Regions from separate parts of the Homo sapiens genome. Here region 1 is linked to region 2. The links are contacts of gene promoters, found by promoter capture Hi-C in human tissues and cell types (Jung and others, 2019). All regions are on one chromosome and are shown on one strand. The core of a region is centred on a gene start or on the middle of the fragment in contact, and the rest is flanking DNA. Distances in the headings are between cores, read along the strand shown. Region 1 has its middle 53 kb from the start of SH3GL2. Region 2 holds the start of SH3GL2 (SH3 domain containing GRB2 like 2, endophilin A1).

The links. Contacts are between HindIII fragments. The study calls those that stand out against the background at their distance.
Region 1: a contact is called between a fragment that was not itself captured here and the fragment with the promoter of SH3GL2 in region 2, in 2 of the 25 tissues and cell types used here (H1 embryonic stem cells and mesendoderm cells).

Annotation. Positions count from the first base shown.
Region 1 is chr9:17,525,135-17,527,834 of GRCh38, forward strand. It overlaps a transcript of CNTLN not described here. Among named protein-coding and RNA genes, the nearest start is that of SH3GL2, 53 kb to the right of the region's middle. The HindIII fragment of the contact is 5,119 bases long and covers 1-2,700 here.
Region 2 is chr9:17,577,600-17,580,455 of GRCh38, forward strand. It overlaps SH3GL2 (SH3 domain containing GRB2 like 2, endophilin A1), which reads left to right and starts at 1,467. Exons shown (of 9, transcript NM_003026.5): 1 at 1,467-1,688. The coding sequence starts at 1,644. RefSeq lists a silencer at 279-477. The HindIII fragment of the contact is 4,711 bases long and covers 1-2,856 here.

The DNA of each region.
Region 1 (2,700 bases), core at 5-2,504, 53 kb before region 2:
CAACATCCCTCAGCCAAAACATTACCCAAACCATAAAAATGACCAAAATATCCCTCCATCCTGATTAATATGCGTGACTATTGTAAACTTTAAAACTTAACTGATAAAAAAAAAACCTTTCAGTCATTTTTGAGGTACTGCAGGAATATTAAGTACATATAAACAGTAAATATTTTCTAAAAGAAAGGTAAAGTCACTAAATTATGTTTCTTTTTATGGGTACTGGAAAGTGTTTTTATATAATAACTTGTTTTTATAGCTATGAGATAGAAAAGATTTTAACTTCAAAATAAAAGGGAATATTGGCATGATTCAGAGTTTTTAAAAACTGGTTTACCATATAAAAATGTTGTTAGCATAACATTTTGATTTGTTCAAGACCAGTGTTATTTCTTATAATTCAAACTTTCCTACATTGGTTTGCGAGTTAAATGATCTACGTATGTTTCTGTAGCTTGTTTAAAATTAAAAATTACATATGTAATTGTATTCAACTAAATAGAATGATAATAAATATCCTTTTAAAAGACCTAATTTTATGAAAATGTATAATACTGTAAATAAAAAATATGTTAGCTAATTTGAAATTACCAGATCCTTCACTAAATTTAAGGTCATAGAGAAATGACTGAATTCATTATGAAAAGATCTTTGAAGGCCTAAACAATTACTAAACAACTTTTTAAAGACATACAAAACACTGGTTATGAAACATGATTTGACTCATTTCTTAAAATAACAATACATTAACAAAGCATACAAATGTCTTTGGACATTTTTATTTTTATTTATTTTTCTATTTCTATTTTTATTTTTTTTGAGACAGAGTCTTGCTCTGTCGCCCAGGCTGGAGTGCAGTGGCGCAATCTCGGCTCACTGCAAGCTCCGCCTCCCGGGTTCACGCCATTCTCCTGCCTCAGCCTCCTGAGTAGCTGAGACTACAGGTGCCCACCACCACACCCAGCTAATTTTTTGTATTTTTAGTAGAGACGGGATTTCACCATGTTATCCAGGATGGTCTCGATCTCCTGACCTTGTGATCCACCCACCTCGGCCTCCCAAAGTGCTGGGATTACAGGCGTGAGCCACCGTGCCCGGCCTGGACATTTTTGTATACATCATTTCCCTACTCAAAATAGCCAAAATGATTTGAAATAAGTGCTCATAGAGCAATAAATAAAATTAATTAGGTATGTCTAAAATTCTCTAAACTGTAATTAAGTAAATTACTATAAGAGACTTTGTCTACCAGACTTAGTACAAAAAAACTGACAAATTATAAAGTTTAACTTCTTTTGATAAATAAGTTGAATATGCTAACGTAAATATCTTTCAATTACTGAATACTTCCAAGTTAAAAGGAACATCTCATGCTAAACATCTCAGGGCACAAAGATTGATAAGACTGATACAATAAGTGTGCACCAAAATATTTTCCAGAATTCTAAATTCACAAATATTTTTCTCTTTTACTCATAAAGGGTCTGGACATACTGTAATGGGAATCATTTGAAACCTATTGCTTCTTTCACTCTTTCATTAGCCCCAATAGCCAAGTCATACGTATATTCTCTAAGAGCTTTAAGAACAATAGTAAAACATGTAAAAAAATTAATTAATTTAGCTCTAGAGTTTCCACTAAATAATGATTATCATGCTTTACAAACTCTTTAACAAAAATGCTTACAATTTTTCAGTTAAGTCACCTAATCTCTCTTTTTTTTTTGAGGCGGAGTCTTGCTGTGTCACCCAGGCTGGATTTTGAGGCGGAGTCTCGCTGTCGCCCAGGCTGGAGTTCTGTTGTGCAATCTCAGCTCACTGCAACTTCCGCCTCCTGGGTCCAAGTGATTCTCCTGCCTCAGCTTCCCAAGTAGCTGGGATTATAGGCGTGCATCACCATGCTCAGCTAAGCTATTTTCTGTATTTTTAGTAGAGATGGGGTTTCACCATGTTGGCCGGGCTGGTCTTCAACTCCTGACCTCAAGTGATCCGCCTACCTCAGCCTCCCAAAGTCCTGGGATTACAGGTATGAGCCACCGTGCCCGGCCACCTAACTTCTTATAAAAAGCTTTCCCTTGACACATCACTGTCCATTACTGTGACACTCCAAATTCAGCCACCCGCCCTCCTTTACCTGAAAAAGAAAGAAATCCCATTGTTCATACCCTGCACAGCCTTTCTACTGATTTGATTATCTTTGTTAATTCTCCATATTTAAAAAGAAAAACTAAAACTTTTCAAGCAGGCTATACTATCAGAGAATTAAATTTATCCTTAAATAGATAGAAGCTCTCACTGTGCTCTAGTTGATAAAGTTGTTTCCCATGGAGTACACACTGACAATTCTGATTCTGCGATGCATGTATACTGGGACGGAAGAATTCAGTACATTGATGGCAAATGGTGGGAGCTAGGATTCTTACTGGTGGAGTGGGTACTTACAGATAAGCAAGGGGAGGAGAGGAGAGTGATGTGTGTGGTAAAGAATTAGAGTTGGCAATATCAGCATGAACTCAGCTGAGACAGCCTGGAGGTAAAGGCACTGGAGTAGCAACAAGCACACCTAGCACTCAGATTTTGGTTTCCAATAAGAGGAACCAGGGCTCTTGGGAGAAATGGCTGATTCTGGAATTGGGGCAGGAAATATACAAGATGAGCCTGGAGTGTTGTGTAGTGCCAGAAGGTAAGACAGTGCTCAAA
Region 2 (2,856 bases), core at 217-2,716:
CTGACAGACCACAGCTTTCTAGAATATTGCGGCCGAGGAAAAGAAAGCTTTGCGGCATCTCATACATCTCATATTGCTGCTGCAGAAGTGACAGTCACTTTTCCTCTTAAACCTCTAGTCAAAACTTGTAACCATGCCTCCACTTAACAAGAGGTTTGGAAAGTGCAATTCTGCCATGTAGGGAAAGGTATATGAACAGTGGTAAGGGCTACCACACTGGAGAATAGCTCCTTTCATCTGCCTCCCTTTGCAGCCTGCGTCCCTAGTCCATGCGCTCTACTGCTCCAGTGCCCACCACTGCTTGACTCTGCCTTTGTGTGTGTCAGTTCACATTATCAAGAAGGACCATGACTGGTAGCTCTACGGATGGAGGACCCTTTTGTAGCAGGTGTTCACCCTGTGCCCAAGCCGCAGTGCCTAGAAGAGTGGGGATGGGTCTGTGGCTCCTATCAGGCTGCAGGAGTTGCGGAGACAGAAAAAGTATTTCTAGGACTCCCATTTGGCCTTGCAGTCTCTACACATCCTTGGCAATTTCTCCCATCTTGGCTTCTCCTTCTTATCACTTTGGTCCACATACGGGGACAGCGTCTAAGTTCTTTCTGACCACCTCCTCAGTCCTAGAAAAACCAGACTTGGTTAAGTACCAGAGCACAGAAGGCATTTAGTGCTGCTCTGCTCCCAAGTCATCTATTAGTTTCACTTTAGCCAGCCATACCTCCTTGGTTACATATGAAGCATCTGTATATAACTTAGTATCATGCTTTTTCACATTATATTTTGATTTTTATCGGACCGGAAACCCTAAATCCACAAGCATAACAACAAGATCACATTTGGGCTTTTTCATTTCTGTAACCAGAGGATTGAACGCTAGTTTTGTAGTAAGACTTCAATTCTATTTATCCGTCCAGGCTTAAGGGTTCCTGTTCTTCTTTTTAAGTCATTAAATTGTATCAGACAAGGGGGAAAACGCGTGTGTGACTTTCCCTAAGGTAAGATGGGCTTAAGGGATATTGAAACCAGGGCAGAGAAATGTTTTCTGTGACCCACCAGTCAGGGCAAGGCATAGAAGGAGCAATGACTTATTCATTAGCCCAGATAGAAGGCCAGTCTTTTTCAGGCTGCGGCGCAGAGACGCCAGGCTCAAAGGGCAGGAGGGCCGTCTGCAGGCAGCGCCGCCGCGGCTACCTGGAAGCCCAGCAAGTCACCTGAGTCCTGCGGGTGCCTGGGCTGCCAATCTGCAGCGACCCGTCCGCAGCCCCCGGGGGCAGGAACACCAACCCCGGGACAGGAGGACGTCCTCGGCCCGCTGACTAGGGATCCGCCAGCGGGTGCCGCTGAGCCACATCCCCGCAGTTGGCGCCAGCATCCAGGTACCGCGCGCCACAGCACCTGCCTGGGCGTTCCCGCGCTTGGGGCGGGGCTTCCCGCGTCCCCTTTAAGAGGCCGCATCACCCGCCCTTGACGTCAGAGTGTTTCTCCGCAAGAGCCCGTGTCCCGCTAGGCTCCGCGCCCTCGCGCCCATAGCCCCGGCGGCGGCACGACCAGAGGCGGCCAGGGGAGCGCGCCGCCCCGCTCGGCCCTCCAGTCCCCCTCCGCCTCCTCCCTCCCGCACAGCAGCCGCCAGCGCGGCCTCCTGCACCATGTCGGTGGCCGGCCTCAAGAAGCAGTTCCATAAAGCCACTCAGGTAAGGCGCGCGGCAGGTGCGTCCCGGGGCAGTCCGGGGCGAAGCTGCGAGGGGCGCGCTCGGCGCTGGCCGTCCGGCGGCAGCTTGGGGAGTTCGGCACCGAGCCTCGCCCGCGCCGGCCGCGCCCCGCCTCGCAAGCCAAGGCGGCGGCTCGGGGCATCCCCGGTCTGGGCGTCCACCCTCGGTCCCCCGCCCCCGGCTTGGTGCGCGCTGCCTTCCCGCGGGTCCCCGGCGTCCTGCCTGGTAGCGCTGCTCGCCGCCCCCGCATCATCTCGCGCCCGTGCTGCAGGAAGGGGACCGCGGCTGCACTGCTGCCGCGGCGCGCAGGTGCCTTGGCGGCGCGGTGGGAGATTATGTAAAGTCGCCTCTTCACGGGTGACCTTGCGGAGTCGGTGCACCCGGCTTTCCCGGGATGTGTTGGCATGAGCGGTGGCCGCACTGGGGGTGGCGGGGCGGAGGCCGGCGGTTTGCGCTCCTCTCCCTTACCCTGTTGTCAGAACCCTCCTTCCCCGCCGCCCGCAGGCTCCAGGGGAATGGAAGGCTGGGGTCTTCCTTTAGGGACCCGCATACATTAACTTTTACCTGGAGAACTCGGTCGTGAAACTCCTTTGAGGCCAGGGCATGACAAACAGTCTGCGGGTCTTAAATATTTCCCTAAAACAACCAAATTGTTGAAGACTTAAAATCATCATGTATTTTAAATTGTTTTTAATAAATCTTTGGCATCTTGGATGTGCCCATTTTTCTTTATGGGGTTAATAAGCTGTGACTGTAATAAAACTGATTAATTTAGATTCTAATAATTAAAATCATTGGACTCAAAGAATTTTACATAGGGGCAAGTAAGCGAATACTTACGCTGTGACCTATTTCTTACATAATGTGTGTGATTACTACTTTTTTATCCTTCTGAAATAGGTTCAAATTTATGGGATCTTTAAGGATTTTGATGACTTACCGCGAAATGTTTTTCATGATTTGGTGTTAAATAGTTTTTCATAGGTTAGCCTTAATTAACGAGCTTTCTCATAATTTCTCGGAAGTAGTGAGGTTTTTCCTAGGCTACCACAGTGGCAGCCTTGTTATGAACCACATCCAGAAAAGGTGAGGGTTGTGTTTTACAGAACCTTGGTTAACTTAGGGTGACAGATGCAGCATGTAATTCCCG